3 separate regions of the Homo sapiens genome follow, and regions 2 and 3 are each linked to region 1. Evidence: promoter capture Hi-C in human tissues and cell types (Jung and others, 2019). All regions are on one chromosome and are shown on one strand. Each heading gives the region's core, a stretch centred on a gene start or on the middle of the fragment in contact. The rest is flanking DNA. Distances are from core to core; before and after follow the strand shown.

Region 1 (4,281 bases), core at 694-3,193:
CAATGCAGGCAAGAAAAGAAGACCGGAGAAGGCCACAGCAATAGGACTCGAGGGGCACTGCAGCTGAATTCAGCTCAACAGACACACTGGTCACCTATAATCTGGCACTGGGAAAGAAAGAAGTGGTGGCGACAACAGCTTCTATCTAAGAATCCTAGATCCCCAAGGTTGTAGCCAGATCTAACAAATCTTAACAAATCAACAAAAATTTCTATTTTAACTTAAGAAGTTAAAATCTTTATGCTAATCGAAACTATTAACGACGCTCCCAAAAGTTTCTGCTACTTGGGTACAGTGTTTTATAGGCACTTACCTGGTTTAAACAAATACATAATCACATGGAGATTTCACTGACACAGCAAAATCTATTTTAGTTCAAAGGTAATTTAAGTGTGAACTTAATAAACTTAAATATTATATTCAATTGAGGGAATTAGATGGGAGCACGTACTTAATATCTGAGACTTAAAAAAAAAATCCACTAAAAAGCCATAGTCAACACCTTGCCCTAATGTTAAATCAAATCGTTTGGATTTACAATTCTTGTTCTATTGAGTAATTTTGACTTCTTACAAACATTTTATTATTAACATTTTCCAGAAAACTAGCTTCAACCACAAACTTCTCTTTCCACGTAGTATATCACACAAAACAAAAAAGTGTTGTAAACATTTCAGTGAGCAGAATACACTATCTAGGTTTGACAACAGCTGGCATTTTACTAGATTTAATCCTTCCAGCAAACCTATGAGGTACGTGCTACCACTATTCCTATTTTTTGACTCAGGGCATGTGGGCACAGAGATTCTGAGTAACTTTCCCAAGATCCCTGGTGATGACAGAGCCAGATTTGACCCGCAGCAGGCAGAACTCCTTCCCACTCATACTGTCATACAAAATAGCTGTTTTTTTCAGGTTTGTTGTGTGCAGTTTTAGCTGTTGATTACTTATGCTAGTAAGTTAAAATTATGTCCAATGATGCTTTTGGTTTAAAGAAAAATAGCTGTTTTCAAAAACTGCTGGTCTTTCTCCTGCCTGATGTTGACACCATGTTTTCTTTCTCTGTGTTTAGCTATCTCTGACCGCCGGAGGCTGTGTCTTCTCTGTCAAAGGCTGGAATCGACCTCCCAGGTGTGCGGGCTCTGTCCCCGACTTAGGACCGGCGTCCTACCTCCAGGCTGAAGACTGGACAAAAGCGGTGACAATCTTCCCGGTCTAACCAGGACTGCAGGAGACGGGGATTCCCGGGATGCGCGACTTTTGAGGGCAAAACTGGGAAGTCCCAATAAGGACTTCGGATCAGGTTCTGATCAGGTTCAAACCAGAGCGAGTTGGTCGCCCAGTAAATTGTACCAAATGTTCCGCGGTAATAACTAACGACAGTGCATGATATAAATAAATGCGATAGACAGTGTTTTTAAACTACTCAAGAAATCAGCTACTTGTACCCAGAAGTCCCTCCATTAAATAACATTACTCTCCTTTTCTTCTTCCACGATTCAGGACTGTCCTGAGTCTGCCGCAAGTGACCAGAGGGGACGAAAGGTCCCAGGGCTGCACGTAACGAGCGGCTGCGACTCCCCAGTCCTCAACTTTGCTCTCAAGTGCGCTCCGAGCGTCACCCGGCGCTGTCCCCGCACCATCTCGTGACCCGACACAAACCACGGTGAGCAGGGGTCCCCGCCCCAGCACCCCATCCCCCATCGTCAACGCCGACCCCAACCCCGACAGTGCGCGCGCCGCCGCACTCACTTGTAGGGCACCGGCCAGTGGCGCCGGGAGGGGATGCCCGAGACCCGGGACCAGCCCGGAACCACCGCGAGCCAAAGCAGCGCCAGGGCCCAGCACCAGGAAGCGCGTCCCCGAGCCGCGCCCGCGCCCCGCCGCATCTCGGCGCCCTGTGCCGTGTCTACCTCCTGCGCCATCAGGCTGCACCCAGTACTTCCGGAGCCTCTCGAGGCCTGCGACGCCGGTGGGAGGAGCATGCGCGGAGCCGCCAGTCCGGGACGCGGGGCGCCTTGCCCCTGCGCGTCAGCTCCAGAGCTTGGCCCCAAGCGCAGGTTCCGGCGCATGACACCTCCCCGCGCCCGGCCCGCGGCGGCTTCCACACTTTGCAGTCCAGGAAGGTGCTTTGGTCTGGCTCCCAGGAGAATTCGATCCAGACCTGGGGCGTCATCTTTTATGAATTGACCTGTCCTTGCCCAAAAGCCACCACCAAAACCAAAAATCTGTCACCGGGGCTCCTCCCAACACCGAACTTTTACCCCATCCCACAGGGCCCACGCTAGGTGTCAACAAACGTTGAGTGAACGAGAATGTGTATTTGGAGCTGAGGGTGCAGGGCTGGGGGTGCAGTGAGGAAGAAGGGACAATAGTGCGGAAATGGCTCGTCGTCACCCGACCTGGGCCAGTCATAACAGTGGTTAACACTGACAATATGTGGTCCCTGCCACTCCCCAAGTGCTTAGTGGGGAAATGACTCGTCCTCACTCGACCTGGGCCAGTGATAACAGTGGTTAACACCGACAATATGTGGTCCCTGCCACTACCCGAGTGCTGCCGAATCTACCCCCTCCCCTACCGCTCCCCTCACAGGCAGGTGTTCCTTGCTTGGATCTGTCACTTCACTGGAAAGAAGTTTCTGCATCACCTTCTCTTCTTTGACTCTTCAACTAGGTCAAGAAAACAATGGCATCAATTACCCGGCTTTTGAGGAGCCTCTTGTGGCATGCTTTGCTGTTAGGCACAAATACTGACTTAAGTCTATACGTAGTACATTCAGGGCCTTGCCATAGTCACTTGTTTTTACCAGACAGCAGTTTTGCAGGGCCTTAGACCGGGACTTTCCAATTCCTTCACTTCACCCACAACTCGTGTGAAGCATCATAATGTTTGTAAGCCTATGGGAATAAGCAAGGTGGCTTCGGTAGCCGGAGATGACCACCACAATCCATTGGAGGATATGTAGCTTGTGGGGGTGTCACTGACTTCCTTGGGCCCTCCAGGTCTCTTGATTACATATGGGACTCAGTACCCTGCCCCAAACACACACTCCTTTGCCCACTTGCTGCTCCAGGTTTGGGGGTTTTGCGGAGGTTCAGGCTGGGCTGCATTTTACCATACGTTTGTCTAAGCGTTTTGATAGCTACCTAGCTCTCCTCCGTATACTATGGCCAAATTCAAAATTACCAAGGCTAAACTGGCTTCTTCAAAGACCTGCCCAAGATAAGAGGGGGAAGCATTCTAGCCCTGAGAGCTGAAATGTAATGTCTGATTTGAAGGGCACCTGAAGGATTCCGTGGCCCCACACTTGAGCCTAGCTTAAAAAGCAATCAGCAGGAACAGCTTTAAAAAAAAAAAAAAACATTGATTAGAGCATTTACAAATCCTGGAACCATACACAGTATGATGTATGAGGGCCACAGTAGATGGCCTCAACAACCAGAGCCTCCGTGGCTGCCTGGAGAGCGGTGATGCAGGCAGCAGCTTCATGAGATATTTGCAGTTTAATCCAGTCATCTGCAAGCACAATCTGCCCATCAGATTGGACTTTCTTGGAGGCAAAGAGAAGCAACTGCAGTGGGGTGACTAAAGTCATGCCTTTAGCAGAGATGGCTCGAGTTCAAATCTTTTCACCAAATACAAAGAAGGGAGATAGGTACTTCATGTCTTGGCTACTAAAAGGACAATTAACAGTAGATGGTTCCAGGTTCCATCTACTGTTAGTAGAGGGCCACAGTAGAACCTCCCATTCAGTTCAGGACTTCCCAGAGCTACAAAAACAAATTCAGGTTGACCTTGTTCAGTGGTGGAGGCCTCTGGTCTTGCTTCTGCCATCTGTCTCTTCATTCTGTGTGCAGGGAGCTTTCATGGTAAGAAAGCACTTCCTAGTATTGGTTTTTATTTTTTATTTTTTTGGAGACGGAGTCTCCTTCTGTCACCCAGCCTGGAGTGCAGTGATGTGATTTCGGCTCACTGCAACCTCCGCCTCCCGGGTTCAAGCAATTCTCCTGCCTCAGCCTCCCTAGTGGCTGGGTACAAGTGTGTGCCAGTTGTAATTTTTTTTTTTTTTTTTGGTAGAGACGAGGTTTCACCATGTTGGCCAGGCTGGTCTCGAACTCCTGACCTCAAGTAATCCACCTGCCTCGGCCTCCAAAAGTGCTGGGATTACAGGCTGTAGTCACCATGCCTGGCCCTAGTATTGGTCTTAACTCAGCCTCCTGGTAGCTCCCATTCTTCTGGTCTGGTTTTGCCTTGGATGGGAACACTGATTAAACCCCA
Region 2 (4,281 bases), core at 1,225-3,724, 350 kb after region 1:
ACTCTCAAAGCTGGGGCAGAAAATATGGACAAAGTCTCTGCGATCTGACAGAGCCCCCTCTCTTACCACCTAGGTCATTTAAAGTCAGCTTCTGAGTAGAATTAAACAACCTGCAGGGAGCATCAGCAGTCTCTTAGAAAGTATATGCCCTTTGAGTTCTGTGGCCAGTAAACATAGCCAGAGTCAGGCTGCTTCCCAGACCAGACTATGCAGGCAGAATCTTCTCTTACCCCTGGCCAGGGAGGCTGTGAAGCAGCTTTTCCTTGAAGCCATGCAGGGCTTGGTATTACGTGCAGCATAATGCCAGGAAAATAAAACCTGAAGCATAAACATTTTTTGAAAATAGACTGCAATCGTACATAATGAACAACGAAAGAACCTGGATTTCCTTTTAAGGAGGACAAACGTTTTTAAGTTTTCTTTTTTTAGGTTGCCCATATGAGAAATGTCTTGTTTAATTTATAAATTTGGTAGAGCTATAAAATGACATGACATACCAAATTGTAAATTAAACTCTACTGTTCTAGACGAAAAGAAGTTTGTGGACTGAAAGTGACCCATTTAAAGGATGTTGCTTGAACTAGTTCCTGGAAATCTTCCGAGGCTCCTGTTTGGGCCCTCTCTTGGCAAAAATATTGCCGGGATTTTCCTCTCAAGTTGTTTTCCTACCATAGAAAGCCCTTCTTCTCATCCTTAATTCCTTTCCAATAAGGTGAATGTTTACTTCTGCTCATGGTTGACCTCCCTTTTTTCCACTCTCATTGCATTTATGGACAGTTTCCCACTGCTTCATACTTTGCTGATAATCTAATCATTCCATCTTTGTTAGTTTTCCTTCCCAAGTTAAGCCTATATTCTTACAAACAGGGACTTCACTCTTACAGTTTTTATTTTCCTTACATTAGAGGTTATCAAACAGCAGATTCATCTACTGCTCAACTTATTTAAGTTATTAAAATTTGACACAAATTTTTAGAAGTCCAAACATGTACTTTAAAAAGAAAGCCATGGAGACACTAAGATTGTTTGATAGGATGGCAGGTGGAGCATGACATAGAAAAATTGGCAAACCACAACTTTGCAGTACCTAGCACACCTAACTGGGCACAAACTGGAATGCGGTGTTCAATTGGTAACTTGTTTGTGACAGTCCTGGTTGTTTTACTTTCTAAATATAATTTATTAATTGTCTTGCAAAAAAAAAAAACTTCTGTTAACTTAGTTTTTTCCTTCAAAATGAAAGGAGAAACAAAAATTTCCAACTAAACCTTGCTTGAAAGGCTTTGTGGAGGAGGCCAATATAGTCTATGATGCTAAATAGAATAATTGGTAACAGATGGCCAGCTAAGCTCTACCAGCTGTAATCGTAAAGACAAAGAGAACTTTCATGGTCAAGATTAGGGTCTTGAGCATACTTTTGATGTGAATGGAAGCTTTGTGAGGCTATGAAATAAGAATACAGTGGAATACCATACCAACAGAATGATCCTAAATGCTGAGAAAACTAAAAACTACACTCATTTTTTAATTTAAAAAAGTACCTTATATTCCTTATAATAAATCCTTCCTTTATTTTCTACTTTTTATTTATAGATGAAAGAATTTACATAATTAGGGAGAAGAACCACTTTCTTTACTAATTATAAGGTGATTGATGGCCAGAGTTAAAGCAAAATTATCTGGGGAAGCATAATTTGTTCTTAAAGTAATGACATGTGGTGTGTAGATTATTCTGTAATGTTTCCTTGGAAAGAGTAAATTACTTCATAAGTTTATTTTGATGCAATATTTACTTCTGAAAGCCATGTTATGGATGATGAAGTTAAAGATTAAAATTGATAGATACTTGATTTACCAAATTACATAATCACAGAGTTGGAAGAAATTTTTAAAAAGTACTTTAAGTACATTAAAAAAATGTACCTGATGGTATCTAATGTACCATCAGACAGATGGATGTTTACTCCATGTTTTCAGATACAGTAGAAGTATCTGTAAGGACTTTGAAGTTTTCCAGTATCTGACAAGAGCTGTGGTTTCAGTGTTACTAGTATTTATGCTGCAACTATCCCTGAATTTGATATTTCTTCCTCCCACACTTAGTATTGATGTGGGAGAAAGTCAAAAGGAAAAATGGCTGTGCTTATCTTCCTATTAAAGATAGTGCTCTATCTCTTTCCTTCAGTTTATTGAAACTCTTTTTAGAGTATAATATATATAACCACAATATATATTGTGGTTCCTTGAAATGTCATAATATTAAATAATAGCAGCAAATAGTCACATAGAGCTTGTGTCAGGTGGTGGTATCAGTACTTTAAATATGGTAACTCACAGGATCCTCATGCCAACTCTCTGAAATAGGCACTATCATAATCTCCATTTTACAGATGAGGCACTAAGGCAGAGGTAGAGTAAAGAACTGGCCCAGGTTGGCACAGCTAGCAAGGATGTGGCAGGATGCAAACCCAGGCAGTTCTGCTCCACAGTTAACTATGCTGCATCCTACTCAAGTTTTCCTCTATCTCTAAATTCTCCTGTCTAGTAATTTTTTTTCAGTTCTTCTGTTGCTTACGGTCTTGGTATTTCTTCAAACTGTTGATTCTACTTTTTGGATACCCCATTGGCTTCTGTGACTGGGAAGTCTGGTTCTCCTGTTTGTCTGTTTTCTTGAGTGGATTTTGTTATGCTGCTTACATTTTTGTGCCCTATTTTTGTATGTTAAGCCTCTGTCCTCATTCTTATTTATTTTTTTCTACTCTTATTCCTTTGGAAATCTTTTCATCAATCACAGCTTTATTTTAATGGTTCTCATGTATCAGTCACCATTTCCAACCTCTGCCTGGGCTATTTGCTGCATATATCTTTTCTGAAATATTTCATAGATACTTTAAAGACCACAGGGCCCTGAACCAATTATCCCCACCATGCTTTGCTGCCTCCCAGATCTGCCCCTCACCCTGTCTATATCTCACTTCACTTAATGGTACCACCTTCCTTCCACCCATTTGGACTAGGCATTATGGAAGCTCTCCTCAAAAGTTCTGTTCCCCATTACTTCCTGGAGACTGTCAGTCATAAGGAATTCTAGAGAGCAGTAACAGTTTTAGAAAGGGGTAGGGATGTGCATGTTCTTGGCATGTTAGTGGAATGGTGAGTAACCTGGAGAGTTAAAGGATAAAGCAAGGAAAGAAGGGATTGGAAGAGGTTGATTAGTTAAAGTTTATATTTGGTGTTATTTGGTGACCTTTGAAGGGAAGTGTTTGTTCTGAGAGGCCAACGTGTCATTGGCTTTTCATCAATAGGCTTCTTGTCTTTAAGGCCACCTAACCTTGGTAAATATATTTAAGTGAGACAGGATATTCAGTTTTCATTCCCACAGCTCCAAGACCTCAGCATTATCAGTACTTCTAGACACATCACGATCTCAGAGATGAACTGACACCAGTCACAACACCATCGGTCAGTCATGGAAACTAGAAGCAGAAATTAAAGCTCTGGGAGGAAGGCATTCCTTTCTGGTGATTCTTGGGAAGCCAGTCCAGTCACCAGAGTACCTCGTGAGTCTGAAGAGAGAGGAAGGATAGAAGAAGGTAGGCTGGAAGTGAGGAGGGTGATTCCCTGTGACTCCCTTCCCTACAAGAGCTGATGAGTTGCCACTTCCTCTGAAACAGTCTGGTGAACAGCACCCACCTCTCCTGCACCATGTCAAACACACCTGCCAGAGGCTCCTTTTGACTTCTGTTCCATACCTTCATCCTGGCCATCTCCTTTCAGGCACACACGCTTAGGTAGGTTAATATTATTGGTAAGCTAGGGACAAGGAGACAAATTTTTGGGATATGAGAAGTGCTCCATTTCCTCTTATTATAAGACCAAGCCTTTCCTCAATTTAGGGAGGTGGGATTTAGGCAAATCAATGAAGTTTTATTGAGTCAGAATAGGCAAGAACTTTATCTTGAACAGAGAATCTATACTCTTCAATGAGGTCCATGGCTTGACCTTAGCAGAGGCCTCCAGCTGAGGGTACGGCGCAGATTTTGCAGGTGTCAGATGTAACAGTGCAGTCTGGGGAGAGCCATAAGTATCTGGGGATTTGAACAAGGGAAGGGGGGAAAGAACCTGGTCAGGGGACGCTCTGGTTTCTCTTTCCTTTTTATTCATTAAATAGGAGGACAAATCATATAAGCTAGACAGGAAGGGAGAGATTTTCTTTTCCTCCTACTTGGCTGAGACAAAGGAAAAAGGAATGACCCAGGGGAACGGTCCTGTGAAATCCTC
Region 3 (4,281 bases), core at 784-3,283, 300 kb before region 1:
TCTGTTCAGCATTTATAATTTTGCCATTTTAAGAATGTTGTCCAGTGAAATTGTACAGTATGTAATCATTTAAGATTGGTGCTTTTTTTCCCCACTTGGCAAAATGTCTTTGAGATTCACACACATTGTTGCATATTGTTTGTTCCTTGATGAGTAAGCATTTCATGGTATGGATGTACTATAGTTTGTTTAACCATTTACCCATTAAAAGATATCTGAGTTGTTTCTAGCTTTTGACTATTTTAAAAGAATGCTATTACGAACATTCGTGTACTGGTTTTTGTGTGAACATAAGTTTTTATTTCTCTGGTGTAAATGTCCAAGAACATAATTGCTGGATTATATGGTAAGCACATATTTAGTTTTGTAGGAAATTGCTGTACTTTCTTCCAGAGTGGCTGTACCATTTTACATGACCATCAGCAATGTATAAGTTTCTCCTCATCCCCACCAGCATTTGGTGTTGTCACTATTTATTTTAGCCATTCTGATAGGTGTGTACTATATCTCATTTTAATTTGCATTTTCCTAGTAGCTAATGATGTTGAAATTCTTTTCATGTGCTTATTCACCCTTTGTGTAAATATCTTCTATATTGATGTGTTTATTCCTATCTTTTGCCCATTTGTTAATTGGATTCCTTGTTTGTTTTTACTGTTGACTTTTGAGAATTCTTTATATATTCTGAATACTCATCCTTTGTTGGATATGTGGTTTGCAAATATTTTCTCCCAGTCTGTGACTTCAATGCTATTATTTTTGAAATTACATTTTTTCAGTTGTTCATTCCTAGTATGTGGATATACTACTCATTTTTATATAGTAATTTTATATCCTGTGATTTTGTTAAATCTGCATACTATTTCTGGTAACTTTTTTGCAGATTCCTTAAGATTCTCTACATGTTTTTTTACAAGTAAAAACATTTCTTTTTTAGAAAATACTTCTTGCCTTTTTCCCTTGGCTGGATAGGATATTTTCCTTGCACTAGATAGGATATCCAGTACAATGTTGATGAGTTGCTGAGAGTAGACCAATTTGCCTGGATCACAATCTTAGAGGGAAAGCATTCAGTCTATTACCATGTTAGCTGTGGTTATTTTGTAGATACCCTTTATCAAGTTGAGAAAATTCCCTTCTATTCCTAACTTAGACTTTTTTTTTTTCTATCATGAATCGATACTGGATTTTTGTCAAGTGATCTTTCTGTGTTTATTTGAAGTATAATATATTTTTTCTCTGTTACAACAGTGGTTGCTTTTCCAGTGTTGTGCCAGCATTGTCCCTGGGTTAAACCTCAGTTGGTCATAATGTATTACTTTTTTATATATTGTTGGATTTGAATAGCTAATACTTGTAATATCTCTGGATATTTGGATGAGATATTTGTAATATCTCTTATACATATATTCATAAGTTATATGCCATGCCAATTTAACTTTTTGATGTATTTCTTATTTAACAAGTGTATTTTTTTTTTCCAATTCTTTATGGAAGAAGAGTCGAATATTTGGGACCAAGTGTTTTTGGTACTTGAGGTATCATTTTGTTTATCTTAGATACTTCCTGGACATACTCTAATTATTGGAAGTTGAATTTCTAAAATATTTTAAAACAGCTTTTTATATTTATAATATAAATGTTGATCTTGAAATTGTAGTTGCTGTCTGATGAATAAAATATTGGGCATAAAAGAGAAACTGTTTAGTCTTAACAAATTACCAATCACATGATTTTTAGCCTTTATCAATACTGATAGGTGAGAGAGAGCTTAGGGAAGCATCTACAGTTTACTTGGCATTACTGTTACTTGAATGAGAATGAAATGAGCTGATGAAAATTAAGTGTTTTTTTGGGAGGCCCTCATTTCTGTGTAAACTTCTATATCTACTTTTAAAAGCATTCAAAATGCAATCTAATGTTTGTAGTAGGTCATTGAGACTCTACAGTGTGTCTAGAGTCTCTTAGGAAGTCGTAAAATGAATTTCCTTTGATACAGAACTCTAAGAGTTAAGCTTTGTTGAGTCTATTCCTGTCATGGCGATACAAGAATATTTCTAAGTTTTTTGCCCATCCTTTTCCAGCCCTTGTCAGATTGGTTGGTTATTGCTGCATTGCTCAAAAAATAGTGAGGTATAGAAAAGGGGACTAGAAGTTGGGTCCATAGACTTAGACTGTCTCTGCTGTGTCACATAATGTGTCTTCTGCAAGTCAGTTAGTGTGTCTAATCTTTACTTTTATGTAAAATGGGACTTGATGATAGAAAAGAGTGTGAAATGGAAATATTCTGTTTTGTATTTCAGTCTGAAAACTTAGAGAATACAGTAATCATACCAGATATCAAACTACATAGCAATCCTTCTGCTTTCAATATTTACTGTAATGTACGCCATTGCGTTCTGGAATGGCAGAAAAAGGAAATATCATTGGCAGCCGCATCTAAGAACTCTGTGCAGAGTGGAGAATCAGATAGTGATGAAGAAGAGGAATCCAAAGAGCCCCCTATCAAGCTTCCAAAGGTAAGCCACTGAGTTCTATTAATATTTAGATGTGTAACCTGCAGGTGTTCTGGCTATAATGCATATATACGCATTGCTAAAATACTTTGCTTTATGTAAAATTGCACACTAAAAATAACACGGCTTATGGGCAAAAATAGATTTGGAGCAGAAAAGGAAAACTCTGCAACTTTATAACTAAGGTGCTAACAAAGTCAATAATTGATAATTCACTGGAAAGCGCAGGAAGGGAGATCAGTGGGTTGGAGTCTGTTATAGGGGCAATTAAAAAATGTACAAAAGCAGTAGGGTGGAAATGCTAGTATAGAGGCATTGAGCCATGGCAGATGGAAGTAGAGCTCTGAGCCAGTGAGCCGAGAGTAAGGTGGGCACAAGAGAAAGCCAAGAGCCCTGGAAAGCTGGGAGGTGCTCCTCACCTGGGATGCAGGTATGCGTTTTTATTTTTCTTGAAATAGAACTACAAAGCCTCTCAGCTGTGTAGTAGCAGGGCTGAGAGCCTTTTCCTTTCTGCCTAAGCTTATAATTGTACTCTTGATATTGTGGTTTCCCTTGATTAGGAAAAAAAAAAATCACCTATGAACCAACTGAACTTCTGCATTATTCTGATATTACTCCCTTATTTACCAGGAGCATATAAACTAGTTGGTATTTCTATAATAGAAGCATGTATTGTAGGCCGGGCGCAGTGGCTCTCACACCTGTAATCCCAGCACTTTGGGAGGCCAAGGCGGGTGGATCACCTGAGGTCAGGAGTTTGAGAACAGCCTGGCCAACATGGTGAAACCCTGTCTCTACTAAAAATACAAAAATTAGCCCGGCATTGTGGCAGTCGCCTATAATCCCAGCTACTCAGAGGCTGAGGCAGGAAAATTGCTTGAACCCAGGAGGCGGAGGTTGCAGTGAGCCGAGATCATGCCATTGCACTCCGGCCTGGGTGACAGAGTGAGACTGTCTCAAAAAAAAAAAAAGAAACTGGCTGGGCGTAATGGCTCACGCCTGTAATCCCAGCTCTTTGGGAGGCCAAGGCGGGCGGATCACGAGGTCAGGAGATCGAGACCATCCTGGCTAACACGGTGAAACCCCGTCTGTACTAAAAACACAAAAAAAACTTAGCCCGTCACGGTGGCGGGCGCCTGTAGTCCCAGCTACTCGGGAGGCTGAGGCAGGAGAATGGCGTGAACCCGGGAGGCGGAGCTTGCAGTGAGCCGAGATGGCGCCACTGCACTCCAGCCTGGACAACAGAGCTAGACTCCATTTACCAAAACAAAAAACCTGTATTATAGAACTACTCTCAGTTTACTCTGTTCTGTTTAAGTATTGGTATATTTAAGACTGGAAGGTCTATATATATATATATATATATATATATATTTTTTTTTTTTTTTTTTTTTTTTTTTTTTTTTTTGAGACGGAGTCTAGCTCTGTTGCCCAGGCTGGAGTGCAGTGGTGCCATCTCGGCTCACTGCAAGCTCCGCCTCCCAGGTTCAGGCCATTCTCCTGCCTCAGCCTCCCAAGTAGCTGGGACTACAGGCACCTGCCACCGCGCCCGGCTAATTTTTTTTTGTATTTTTAGTAGAGACGGGGTTTCACCGTGTTAGCCGGGATGGTCTCGATCTCCTGACCTCGTGATCCGCCTGCCTCGGCCTCCCAACGTGCTGGGATTACAGGCGTGAGCCACTGCACCCAGCCTGTTATATATATTTTTTCTATATAGTAGATATAGTTAATATTTACAACAAAAGAATAGGTGAAAATATAGACA

Evidence for each region. Contacts are between HindIII fragments. The study calls those that stand out against the background at their distance.
Region 2: a fragment that was not itself captured here is called in contact with the fragment with the promoter of CLN5 in region 1 in 1 of the 25 tissues and cell types used here (mesenchymal stem cells).
Region 3: a contact is called between a fragment that was not itself captured here and the fragment with the promoter of CLN5 in region 1, in 2 of the 25 tissues and cell types used here (dorsolateral prefrontal cortex and lymphoblastoid cells).

The regions. Positions count from the first base shown.
Region 1 is chr13:76,989,743-76,994,023 of GRCh38, reverse strand. CLN5 (CLN5 lysosomal BMP synthase) reads right to left here and starts at 1,943. Exons shown (of 4, transcript NM_006493.4): 1 at 1,753-1,943. The coding sequence starts at 1,925. RefSeq lists an enhancer at 439-1,638 and silencers at 1,660-1,899, 2,360-2,429, 2,520-2,609. The HindIII fragment of the contact is 12,191 bases long and covers 1-4,281 here.
Region 2 is chr13:76,638,330-76,642,610 of GRCh38, reverse strand. No RefSeq gene overlaps it. Among named protein-coding and RNA genes, the nearest start is that of KCTD12, 250 kb to the left of the region's middle. The HindIII fragment of the contact is 9,343 bases long and covers 1-4,281 here.
Region 3 is chr13:77,286,399-77,290,679 of GRCh38, reverse strand. MYCBP2 (MYC binding protein 2) reads left to right here. Exons shown (of 83, transcript NM_015057.5): 3 at 2,304-2,519. The region is part of intron 2 of LOC124903184 (a long non-coding RNA gene); the gene reads right to left. Among named protein-coding and RNA genes, the nearest start is that of MYCBP2, 39 kb to the left of the region's middle. The HindIII fragment of the contact is 3,391 bases long and covers 338-3,728 here.